3 separate regions of the Homo sapiens genome follow, and regions 2 and 3 are each linked to region 1. Evidence: promoter capture Hi-C in human tissues and cell types (Jung and others, 2019). All regions are on one chromosome and are shown on one strand. Each heading gives the region's core, a stretch centred on a gene start or on the middle of the fragment in contact. The rest is flanking DNA. Distances are from core to core; before and after follow the strand shown.

Evidence for each region. Contacts are between HindIII fragments. The study calls those that stand out against the background at their distance.
Region 2: a contact is called between a fragment that was not itself captured here and the fragment with the promoter of CACNA2D1 in region 1, in 2 of the 25 tissues and cell types used here (H1 embryonic stem cells and spleen).
Region 3: a fragment that was not itself captured here is called in contact with the fragment with the promoter of CACNA2D1 in region 1 in 3 of the 25 tissues and cell types used here (dorsolateral prefrontal cortex, heart left ventricle and mesendoderm cells).

What each region holds. Positions count from the first base shown.
Region 1 is chr7:82,441,090-82,445,285 of GRCh38, reverse strand. CACNA2D1 (calcium voltage-gated channel auxiliary subunit alpha2delta 1) reads left to right here and starts at 1,509. Exons shown (of 39, transcript NM_000722.4): 1 at 1,509-1,921. The coding sequence starts at 1,827. RefSeq lists an enhancer at 2,504-3,067. The HindIII fragment of the contact is 9,545 bases long and covers 1-4,196 here.
Region 2 is chr7:82,296,160-82,300,075 of GRCh38, reverse strand. The region is part of intron 3 of CACNA2D1 (calcium voltage-gated channel auxiliary subunit alpha2delta 1); the gene reads left to right. Among named protein-coding and RNA genes, the nearest start is that of CACNA2D1, 150 kb to the left of the region's middle. The HindIII fragment of the contact is 6,244 bases long and covers 1-3,916 here.
Region 3 is chr7:82,269,540-82,274,036 of GRCh38, reverse strand. All of the region lies in intron 3 of CACNA2D1 (calcium voltage-gated channel auxiliary subunit alpha2delta 1), which reads left to right. Among named protein-coding and RNA genes, the nearest start is that of CACNA2D1, 170 kb to the left of the region's middle. The HindIII fragment of the contact is 4,796 bases long and covers 1-3,764 here.

The DNA.
Region 1 (4,196 bases), core at 260-2,759:
ACCAGGCTAAGCATCATAAAATCACACACGCTCTTAAAATTTGGCCAGTAATTAATAGTAGTAGTATTATTATTAGTCTTTGTTTTGGGAGATTGCCTTCAGAGAGCTGGAAAATTCATTTCGAATTAATAAGGGTCTTTTTCTTTCAGAAGCATCTCCTAAAAATAAGAACGGGCTAATTAAAAATCTGACAGCCACCCCGATACTTACAGAATTTTTGCATATGCAGGATAGTCATCACAAATTGTATTCTCTGCACGTCATGTCAAAAGTATTCTCATACACTACTAGAGGGAGCTTAAGAATTTAAGGTGTGCAAGAATATATTTCTATCTTTGGCCCACCAGGGCCCTCTTGTAGGAGGCCTGTGTTGGGCGGGAGAGGCCTAGTCGCAGACCCTGTCTTTTCAAGGAGAAAGCCCGCCACTGCTTCCTCTGAGTCTGGAGATAAAACCAGTCCGGCATTGCTACTCCCTAGCTCTCTCCCCCTCCCTTAATTCCTCCTCTACATTTCAGGCGCATTTCTCAGAGTGCCACCTGTTCCTGCTGCTTACCCTTTTCATGCCTTCGCATTGACAAAAGTGAGCTCACCCTGCGGTAACCTTGTCAGGCAGGGCAGGCCAGTGGCCAGAGCAGGGCGTTAGGACCCTTTTGGAGGTAGTCCCAACTGGGATGCTGCAAAGCGCTTCTCTTACTACTGTCCTCCCTAGATGCAGAATTCGTCCCTCCACCCCTCTGTCCAATGGAACCACAGGGCTGGGAAGATTTTACAGCGTCAGTACTTCTCTGTCCGTCCACAGCCCGGTCCCTGAGGCTCTGTCCTCGCCAGGTGAGCCGAGCAGTACCTGGGCGTGGGACCGCTGGCACAAAGGGCACCCAGCCCCGGCAGAGGCTCTAACCTATGGCACACGCGGGCATATAGTGCCACCTGGTAGAGAGTCAACAGTGGTGCTTTAAAATGCAATACAAACCCCTCCTACATTTGTTGTCAAATCACTTCACGATTCCCAGGCAGGCACTGGATTCTGCGCCTGGGAGTAGGGCTGGGGGGGAACGCTGCCTGCATGTGCAAAAATAACCCCCGAAGACGCGAGCCAAGTCCTGGGTTGGAGCCTCTGCAGCCTGTGGATGCCCGCTGGGCGGCTGGCCGTCCCCCGGGAGCCCCGCGGGGCTGGTCCGCTCCGCCTGCGCACGCCGGGCGGCGGGAGCGAGCCGGCGCCGACTTTGGGAGTTCCTGGCTGCCTTGTATGGAGGGCTGCTCCCGGCCCGTCTCCGCCCGACTGCTCTGACGCCCAGCCCTCCCGCTGCCCACCCCCAGCCGCCTCCCTCTGACTTGCCTAAGAAGCCAGACGGAGCCTCTCGCTTCCACAAGTCTCTCTGCCTGCCATTCCCCGATTCCTGCAGCCACCCCCACCCTCCAGCGCCGTCACCCCTCCTCCGCCCCCGCCCCCGCCTCCGCCTTCGCCTCGGCAATCGGGGGAATAAATCAGGGAGGAAACCGAGAGGGAGAGCGAGAGCGCGCGAGCGCCGGCGGGCTCGCCGAGGTCTGTTTCCAAAGTCGCCCTTGATGGCGGCGGAGGCAAGGCGGCCGCGGCGCGGAGCAGCCGACGCACGCTAGTGGGTCCGCCCGCCACCGCCCCTTCCTCGGCGTCCGCTCCCGCCCTTGCCGTCCCCCGCGCGGCTCCGCGCCTCGGGCCCCGGGCGCAGCCAGCCCTCCAGACGCCCGCGGTCCCGGCGGCGTGTGCTGCTCTTCCTCCGCCCGCGGTTTCCAGCGCCGCTCCTTCCCCCGCTTGGGCAGGGAGGGGGCATTGATCTTCGATCGCGAAGATGGCTGCTGGCTGCCTGCTGGCCTTGACTCTGACACTTTTCCAATCTTTGCTCATCGGCCCCTCGTCGGAGGAGCCGTTCCCTTCGGCCGTCACGTAAGTCGGCGGGCCGGGCAGGGAGCGCCGGCCGAGGGGCGCCGCGGGAGTTGGGGGTGGGGGTCGGTTCCCGAGTCGCGGGGCTTTTCCGCCCGTGGGGGTGGGGAGCGAGCGGCCGGGGAGCCAGGCTCGGATGCGGAGACGCCGGGCAGGCGGTGCGCGCCGCTCGCCGCTGGAATGCGTCCCGAACCGGCGTCTCGGGCGCCTCCACGGGGCCGGGCACTGGGGGCCGACTGTCCCGGGAAGCGCCCGCCGACGACTCGCGGCGTCTCAGCCCGTCTCTAACGGGATTCTCTAGACTTCAGAGTGCAGCCGTACTGGGGAAAAAAGTTTCCAGCCAGCTCACCCGCTCTGATTCAACCCAGTTCAATAAAAAGTTATGTTTTGGTTGGGTAATTTACAAACAGGTAATTTCAGGCTTGCCGAGGTAGCGTGGACTTCCCCCGCACTTGGCCTCGGAGATGCTCTTTAATTGCTGTAGTGCCCAAACTCGTTTTATCCCACGTTACTGGATGCACTTGACAGCCTTCCGATTAGACGCGTGCTGGCTCCCCGCGGCCGAGCGTGCTGTCCACGCAGGGGGCTCGCAGGTACTGGGACCACGCGATCCAACCTCCCCAACCCATTATTTGAAACATCTAAGTGTCGGCAGACACGCGGTCCCTGTTCTTCAAATGAATAGAGCCTATTCTTTGAAGGAGGGACTATTTCCAGTCTCCTACAAATTTTCTTTTATTTTTACCATTTCTAAAATAACTTTTAAAAACCTCGCTGCTGTTCTGGAAATAGAGGGCTTATAGGTAGCTATAGTCACACCACAGGAAGGGAATGAAAAATAATAATTCTCTCCTTTCTTAGCAAAATAGAATCAAACTCAATGGCACATATAAATATATACATATTTTTTAATGCACCGAATAGCCTATCCGGCATTCTGGGAAAGCATTTATTTTGGTTCTTGGAGCTTCTTTAAAGCTTCTAAAGGTAGGTAATCTTAAGTGGATGAGTCACTTTAATGCATTTTACATAACAAAAACAAAGCCCAAGGTAGCTTTCCCGGTATTTATGCTGCTGGGAATTACTTGCTGTCCTTTGTTGGCTGAGTGCTGAATACAGGAGTTTTTGGTGGAAAGTAACAGTGAATCTTTAGCGGTTGAAATCCTGCGGCTATTATTTAAGATTCAGTTTTAAGTATTTATTACCTTAGGTGTCAGTGCAAGAATCTGGAGGATGCACATTCTATCCCGGAGAAGGGGAGTGTCTAATTTTTGTTGTCATTGAGTTACAGTAATGTTCCTCTTTAGATAATCTTCCATAAAACTGATTGCAGATCCTTTTTGTTATGAAGCAAAAGGGTAAATGCCATCTGGAGATCTTCGTTTAATTGGCAGGATGTTCCAGTCAGATATTTTTAAACATAAAAAGAGTAAGAATCACCCTAAGGATGCTTCAGAATTATTTACTCTTATTAAGGCATCACACTTCCATTTAATTTTTTAAGTCTGTTTGTTGCTTGGCCTGTAAAGTGAGAACTCAAATGAGTCGCTTGCATTCTGTGTCAAATAAATAAGTGGCTCTTTAAAAAACAATCACTTCCTAAATGTGTTCCGATTACTCATTTTTACAGTGTTGTTTTTAACTGACAATTTATCAATATTTTTATCATGGGAGGGGATACATCATCATACCATTGGGGAAAACTACAACAAAATACAACCTTTTATTCCTCAACATACTGTGGTAAAATATTAATGTAAAAATCCTTATTGTTAAGAAGAACATCTGCAATAATGCTTTCCTAAAATTATAAGTAAATCAATTTTCATGGTCAGAAATTTACTAGACACAAGAAAGAGTATATATAGTGGGTTAAAATGGGAAGTAGGACATCACAATTTCTTTTCTTTGGAAGGATCTGAAATTTTTTTTAACGATGAAAATTCAAGATATTTTCAAATTATATAAGACATTGATTATTTAATGAATGAAATACTTAATAAAAGGTTTTGTGGAGCGAAGTCAATCTCCTGTAGGTAATCTTAACAATATTTTTGGAAGCCTTCTGCATCTTCAGTTTTTCATTTGAAAAGTTAGTAACACTGTCTTCTGAGGAAAGAACTGATGGTTGACATTTGTACTTCATGTTAGATTTCTGAATAAACTTTATGAAATTAAAAAATGCAATATTTTTCATAAAGATGTGCCATTTGCTTTTCTTTCGAGAAAAGAATTCATATGCACTGTTTAATCAGGACAAATCTCAAATCTTTGGGGG
Region 2 (3,916 bases), core at 816-3,315, 150 kb after region 1:
ATGAGAGACACCTACCTGTATTATCTTCAGAGCAATGATCACAGATCGGTCATGATTCAAGTTTTTGTTTGTTTCATTGTCTCCTAACTGGTAAAATCCATACGCGCCCATTTCAGTTCATATTTATCTTCATACCTGTTGGGCCTAACATCGTTCCTGATATATAGTGGGTGTTCTATAAATATTTACTGAATGAATAAGTTGGTTAATGAGTAAAATATAGGTTTTTTCCCTTTATAAGCTCTCTAATATTTTCTGATTTTCTATAATCCTATTAATTTAGGGCTGTAGAAATCAATTATGTTTATCTGATTGCTACTCATATAATAAAACTGAAGTTTGAAAGATGTGATAGTGAAGTGAAGACACTTTGAAATTATGCATTCTACTCTCATCTAACTTTTTTTTTTTTTTTTGAGATAGAGTCTTGCTCTGTTGCCTAGGCTGGAGTGCAGTGACATGATCTCAGCTCAGTGTAACCTCCGCCTCCCAGGTTCAAGTGATCTTGTGCCTCAGCTTCCCCAGTAGCTGGGACTACAGGTGCCTACCACCACGCCTGGCTAATTTTTGTATTTTTAGTAGAGATGGGGTTTCACCATGTTGGCCAGGCTGGTCTCGAACTCCTGACCTCAAGTGATCTGCCCACTCCTGCCTCCCAAAGTGCTGGGATTACAGACGTGAGCCACCGCACCCAGCCATTCTCATCTAACTTTTTAAGTAAAACTATCTTCACTGTTCTTTCTGAGAAAATGCTGATTGCAAAATACCCAAAACAATAATGAGAAAGTAAAAGTTTCCACTTTAACCTACTTTCTCCCTAAAACCCCCCAAAACAAACAAAAAAACCTACTGAGAATAATTTGGTATATGATCAACTTTCATTTTGTACATAGTATGTCTTTAATGTTAACAACATGTTTGTATGATAAGCAGAGAATTTTTTTTTCCCAATTAACCAGGTGAGTAAAAAATGACTTGGTATTTACTATTATTTTTACTTTTTTTTTTTTTTTTTGACAGAGTCTCGCTCTTTTCACCCAGGCTGGGTGCAATGGCGTGATCTCAGCTCACTGCAGCCTCTGCCTCCCCGGTTCAAAGGATTCTCCTGCCTCAGTCTCCCGAGTAGCTGGGATTACATGCACCCGCCACCACGCCCGGCCAATTTGTGTACTTTTAGTAGAGACGGGGTTTCACCATATTGGCCAGGCTGGTCTTGAACTCCTGACCGCAGGTGATCCGCCCACCTCGGCCTCCCAAAGTGCTGAGATTATAGGCGTGAGCCACTGTGCCCGGCCTATTTTTACTTATTAATTGAATTATATGTACATAAACTTGCCTCATTAGACATTTGGAGCTGGGTGTGGTAGCATGCGCCTATAGCCCCTGCTACTCAGAACACTCAAGCCTAGGAGTTAGAGGCTGAAGTGTGCCTGTGAAAAGCCATTGCTTTCCAGCATGGGCAACATAGTGAGACCCTTGTCTCTTAAAAAAAAAAAAAAGACATTTGCACTCTTTTTAAAAATAAATTTCATAGTATGATTGAACTATAAATATGAAATTTAAAGTAAAGAAAGGAAACTTATTCATAAGTTCTGGTCACCAATTTTAAGTAAAGAGAGTAAATACGGTCATTCAGATGTTAACAATATTATAGAAAAGAATGGAAAACCTGGATTATGTTTCTGAAATATATAAGCTTAGAAGAAGAAAGAAGACAGTGGAATCTCAGATGACTTCATAATGCCACTCTGTAATGTTATCTTTTAGTGGCAGTTACAGTTCTAGTCCTTTTATATATACTAGTACACTCAGAAATCAAAGAACTGGGTGGTAGATGGGAATGTCTGCATTGCCCTGGGATTCCCTATTGGTGGAAAACATTTACATGATACTAGTTTTTAGAGTCATTATTTGCTACTGGAGCATTTTAAAAATTCATACTAAATATTACTCAATAATTACCAGTCGGTGTGTATAATTCTACAATAGCTGCAAACATTTTTGTATTGAAGAGTTTTTGAATAACATTTTCTAGTTAGTGATGTATTTCATAATAATTTTGTTTTAATATATTTAATGAGGAAAGGTTTTTAAAAAATTATTAAAATTTCAATTTTACTCTACTTGATTCTAATTAAAACCACCCCTTGGCAATAAATTCTGCTTCTTATATATCCGTATTACAAGAAAATAATTGAGGAAACTTAAGGTTGTTTCTTGTTTATGAAGGTGGATGAATACATAATTATTTATTAAGATTGCTTATTAGTCGTTTTGTTTTATAGTAAAATCTTTATTAACAGCCTCCAGCATCTGAAATATAATACATTCCCAAGAAAATGTGCTATATAGAATAAGCTGGCCAATGTTATAAGGCACAGATATTGGTAAAGACTACAACTACATTAAAAAGGCTAAAGGTGATCTCAGGAATAAAAACGTAGCCATTGTATCCTAGAATTCTGTTTGTTCATTTGTTTAATAGAAACCCTTTTTATTCTATAATTACAATGACTTTTTTACAAAAATTTTTTTTGAAAAGGAATGTTGACTCTGCTAGTCTACAAATTGTATACATTCTTTCTATTGTGCAACAGCATTGGTAATATTAGAAGAAACACACTTCTAATTATGTGAAGTTACCAACTGAAAACAAGTGATAGCTTGCCATTCAACATCTCCCCCCACAAAGGAAGTATTAACAGGTGTGGTATCTTAGTATTAGCTGCCAGGAGACATTCATGTTACAGATCAATGATCAAGATTGTTGTTATACTATTAAATAGGGTAATACATTTTAATGTGAGTTTTTTCTATTTGTTTATTTTTTGAGACAGGGTCTCTGTTGCTCAGGCTGGAGTGCAGTGGCACGACCTTGCTCACTGCAGCCTCAGCCTCCTGGGCTCAAGGGATTCATTCACCTGCCTCAGCCACCTGATTAGCTGGGGCTATAGATGTGTGCCACCATACCTGGCTAATTTTTTTTTTTTTTTTTTTTTTTTTGGTAGACACAGAGCCTCACTATGTTTCCCTGGCTGGTCTCCAACTCCTGGACTTAAGCGATCTTCCCACCTCCGCCTCCCATAATGCTGAGATTACAGGCATAAGCCACCACTCCCCGCCAATATGAGTTTTTACTAATGAGAAATAATAGTATCCTAAACCCTGACATTTAAAATGATTTTTGCAGATACATAGGCAGTCACCAACTACATGCATAAATCCTTTTAATTTTAAATCTCATAGATTCTTATTTATTGAATGCCAACTATTTGCTAGGCTCCTACAGGTTGGAGTGGCAAAAATTCATATTCACCTACATATGCAATTAATCAGAATACTATATAACAAATGAAATCATAAAGAATGTCCACATACAGTGGTAATACATAGGAGAGAATGATTAACTCTGTTTTGTTGTGGGATGGCATGGGGTCAGGGAATGCTATAGCTGCATTTTAAATCAGTCCATACTGAAGTGAATAGGAGTTTAACAGATAGCTTTAAAAGGAGACATACAACTTGTTTAAATAAAATGTGCAATTAAGCATCTTGGGTCTAAATTTCTCTAAAATCCTTCCTGCTATTCTAAGAGGTTTATAATTAGGTGTCTTTCTGCTAATTAATTGCAGTAGCATAAAGCTTCACTTACTTGTAACAGCTATAGTGCCCAAGGCTGCAAAATTTTAGCAGACACATTGAGCTAACTGATTCGGATGTCAGAAATGCTCTGAGATGTTAATCCCATTTTAAAGGGGTCACTTACAGAAATAGTTTTTCCTCTTCAGAATCTACATGTTTTTTTTTTTAATTATTATTATACTTTAAGTTTTAGGGTACGTGTGCACAATGTGCAGGTTAGTTATATATGTATACATGTGCCATGCTGGTGTGCTGCACCCATTAACTCGTCATT
Region 3 (4,497 bases), core at 117-2,616, 170 kb after region 1:
GGTAGCCAGGGGTCAAATGACATATGGTCTTCTAGAACAGCAGTCACAGTGTGTTACAATGACTGGGATTATTTTCTTCAGTAGAAAAATTACATTCTCATTGTTAAGAAACTGATAATATGGGTAAGTGCAAAGTAGAAAATGAAGCATATTCTTAATTCTACACCCAGGTATAAATATTATTAACATCGAGAAGCTTTTATTTTCATTCTTCTTTCTATTCTTACATAATCACGTGCACCTGTATGCAGGCGCAAATACATCTGCACACTTATGCATGCATACGCACACAACTTTTATTAAATTGGAATTATACCCTTCATTTGCAATTAATATATTCAGAATGTTTTCCTATTTCATCAAATATAAAAATGAAATAAAATAATCCAGGCATGGTAGGGTGCTCCTGTGGTCAAAGCTACTTGGGTAGCTGAAGCAGGAGGATCACTTGAGGCCAGGAGTTCAAGGCCTCAGTGTGCTATGATCACATCTGTGAATAGCTACAGCCCAGGCAACATAGCAAGATCCTGTTTCTAAAAATAATAATAAAATAGAAAATATTATATTATAGAGAAGATATACAATAATACATAATAAATAATATATAAAATAGAATCATAATGGCAACATCGTATGTATATGCCAGTACCTATGACTAATTTAGAAGAACTCCAGTTTTTAATACCACAAATATCAATCCTGTAAACATTTTTATATAGAAATAGATGTACAAATTTCTTATTTCCTTAGCATAAATTCTCAAAGTTGAGCTATATCAAAAGGTATATTATTATTATTTAAAAACTATGAATAGAGCTTGCCAGATTATCCATCTGGAATTGTTTAGCAGTTTATGATAGTGTGTTTCTATCTCCTCTTCAATATTGGATATTATTTTTTAGGCAACGAAGTTGGTAGATAACAAATGGCATCTCACTTTTATTTTATTTATTTAACTTTATTTTGTGATTTTATTTAGAACATAATATCAAAGTTGTTTATTAGTTAGTAGTATTAGTTCTTTATTGGTACGTTTCCTTATTGCTACATATAATGAATTACCTCAAAATAAAGTGGCTTAAAATAACAAATATTTCTGATCTCATAGTTTCCATGGGTCAGGAAATTAGGAGTGGCTTACCTGAATGAGTCTTTCTCAGGCTTTCTTAGGTGGTGCTTCTCTGATGGCTTACCTGGTGCTGCAAGATCTACTTTTTAAATTTTCACTGTGCACATTTTTTTTGAAATGAAGAAAACAATGTTATTTATAATAGCAACAAACGGAAACATTCAGAAATAAGTTTACCAAAAGAAGTACTAGGATATTACGCTGATTTTTGAATTTTCTTAGTAGTACCTTTATTCTTTTGTTTTCAGAAGATCCACTTCTAAGGTGGTTTGTATACATGGCTATTGGCAGGAGACCTCAGTTCCTTGCCACTTGGGCTTCTTTCCACAACACCTAACCATGGTAGCTAACTTCCCCAACAGTGAGCAATTCAAGAAAGTACAAGGAGGGATTCACATTACCTTTTACAACCTAGTTTCTTACGTTGCGTGCTATCCTTTCTACTTTATGCTATTTGTGAGAAGTGAGTTGCTGTATCCAGCCGACCACTTGAAGGAAGATGTATCAAATTTGTAGACATATGTTTAAGCCACTACAGTAATTTTTTCCAGCTTCTCACTGGCATATTAGAGGGTGTTGAACACATGACTACAACTATTATTACTATTGGATGACTGATGCCGCCACTGGACTACCTATAGTACAAAAGTTCCTCAATAAAGGCTATTTTATATTTTTGTCATATATTCCAATACTCTTGCTGTCAGAATTCTTCCTTTCTAAAAGCTGGAATACTACAATTTAGATTCTATTTATGTTTTATAGAATATCTGTCTTTTAGAGATTATATTGAGAGAAAAAAATCTGTCAGAAGTTTTCTCTCATAAATTACTCATTTTGGGTTTCTGCTTAATTGAGCTTTGACTTCTGTAAATTTATTTTTCCTTTTTTTTAGTAATGTTTAGATTGCTAGTCCATTATCTACTGTCTAGGATTATAAATATTGTTTATTTTGAAAAAGTTGAAATAGATTCAGGAAGAAGAAAGTGATTATTAGAGTTTTCCATTGTAATTAGCTGCTTTCCTGGTCTAGCCATTTATCCATCATCTATTGTCTATGATTATAAATATTATTTATTTTGAAAAAGTTGAAATCGATTCAGGAAAGAGGAAAATGATTATTAGAGTTTTCCATTGTAATTAGCTGCTTTGCTGGTCTAGCCATTTACCTTACTCTTGATGCCTGTTTATCTCCTTGGCTCTAATTAATAACTGTGCATCTAAAGCTTATTTTTTCTCAACTTCCAAATAGAAATAATAAAACAACGTACTATTTTTCACACACAAAAGGGAGAATATATTTATTCAAAAATATGGCATGATGATATGCTTTGTTAATGGTGGTGGTATTGATGATAGTCTGAGAACCACAATCAATAAATTAGAAATTAGCAAGCATGTGTGAAATTTGACAAGTGATAATGGGTTCATTTGTGGATGGTAGAAAATGAATACAATTATAATTAAAAATGTTCTATTTTAATGAAATAACTATATATTTAGATGATAAAGGAAATAAAATTTGATAAAGAATCAAGAGAATTTATTCATTTACTGCATGTAGGGGAGAAATAAGAGTAAAAATGAATGACTCAGGTCTTCAGATTGAATGACTGTGTACATCATGGTATTTGGACTAGAGGGGATCTAGTTTCTAGAGAAAGTGGTACTTTTCTTTTCTACATGATGAATTTGAGGTGATGGTAGACTCTATTGCTGTAGCTGTCGAACAGCAAATGGAATTAGAAGATTGACACTTCTGAGAGAGAGGATGGTAGTGGATATGTACTTTCATTTAGGTGACAATTGACATGAAAAAAGCCAGAGCAGAGGCCTGAATCTGGGGTTAAAACACTGTATTTATAGAGTGGAAGAATGAAATAGAGCCAGAGTCTCATGGGAATTATGACACTCATTTGTCATCTGATGCAGCACAGGAATGAGTTTGGATAAAGAAGTAGTTTGTAGTTAAATAAGGAATACAGTTCAAGAAAGATGATTATGGAGAAAATACAGTTAGCTTGAAATGGGACATAAGAGTAGTTAGACAAAGGACATAATGAAATAAGTTAAACAATGAGTGAAATCCAAAGAAGTGGTTAATAGGAGTTTGGTAATGACGACTTTGAAAGAGTCTGTGTAGAAATTTACTAGAATGACCACAACTTAAAAAACAAGAATTAAAATTTGGATAGAAGAGAGGAGCTAGCATATGGAGAAACTGGAACTTAAATACATTAGATGTGTGGATATCCATTTCACAGAAACCACTTTGGAAAATTCTTTGGCAGTACCTACCCTACAATCCAGCAATTTCTAGGATATTTCCAACAGAAATGAATACATGTCTCCCAACAGATACACATTTTTATTCACAATAGTCCTTAACTGGAAACAACCCAAATGTCCTTTAACGAAAGATTGGATAAATAAACCGAGGTGTATACATACACAGAAAACTGCACAGCAATAAAAAGAACAAAATATTTCTGTACGTAGCAACAATTATATATCTCACAACAATAGTGATGAGCCAAAGAGCCCAGATGGAGAAGACTACGTGTTATATGATTCAATATATATGAAGTAAAGGGGTAAGTAAATTAGCCAAAACTAATTTATAGTAATAGAAGTCATGACAATAGCTACCTTTTGGGTTTGGGGAATAGCCAATGACTCAAGAGCATGAAGATGTTTGGATAAATACTAAAAAAGCAAAAAACAAAAACAAAGATTAACAGTGCATGTCAGAGATAGCTGAGGAGAGAACAGCTGAAGAATTTAGTTAGATAGAAAGCCAAGTTATGGGCCTATAAAGCTGGAATTCAAGATATGGAAACCAGAAGGGCAGAACAATGATGCAGAACTGTATAACAAAATAAGGCATTGGAGTCTTTCTTGTATTCTCTTTGTATCTTAGATGCCTCAGCCTCCAATGCTGCTTGCTGTTACAACATAGAAAAACATTGGAGTGATTTTAGAGATGATTTTTTTGTGAATATGTCAGTAAAGTTTGTGTTGACTGTTGGTAACATTGTTCATCTACTGAAGCACTCTAATAATAAGAAAAGTGAATTGGAGCTTGAAAAAATTGCTGTGACATTGGAAGAAGAGAGAATGTAAATGAAGGGGTTAATTCTTGTCTGCCACTTTCTTCCTGGTGTTGCTGATGCCTCAATCATTCACTCAGAAAATGTTTACTAAGTACCTCTTATGTTTTGGACATTAAGCTGGGTACAAAGGATGTAGAGTTGAAGGACAGTGTCTGCCTTAAGGACCTCACAGTGCAGTGGGGAAAATTGTCAAATAAACAAGTAATTCTTGTAGATGCACAAGTACCATGGAAGCATATAGATGATAAAGCATAT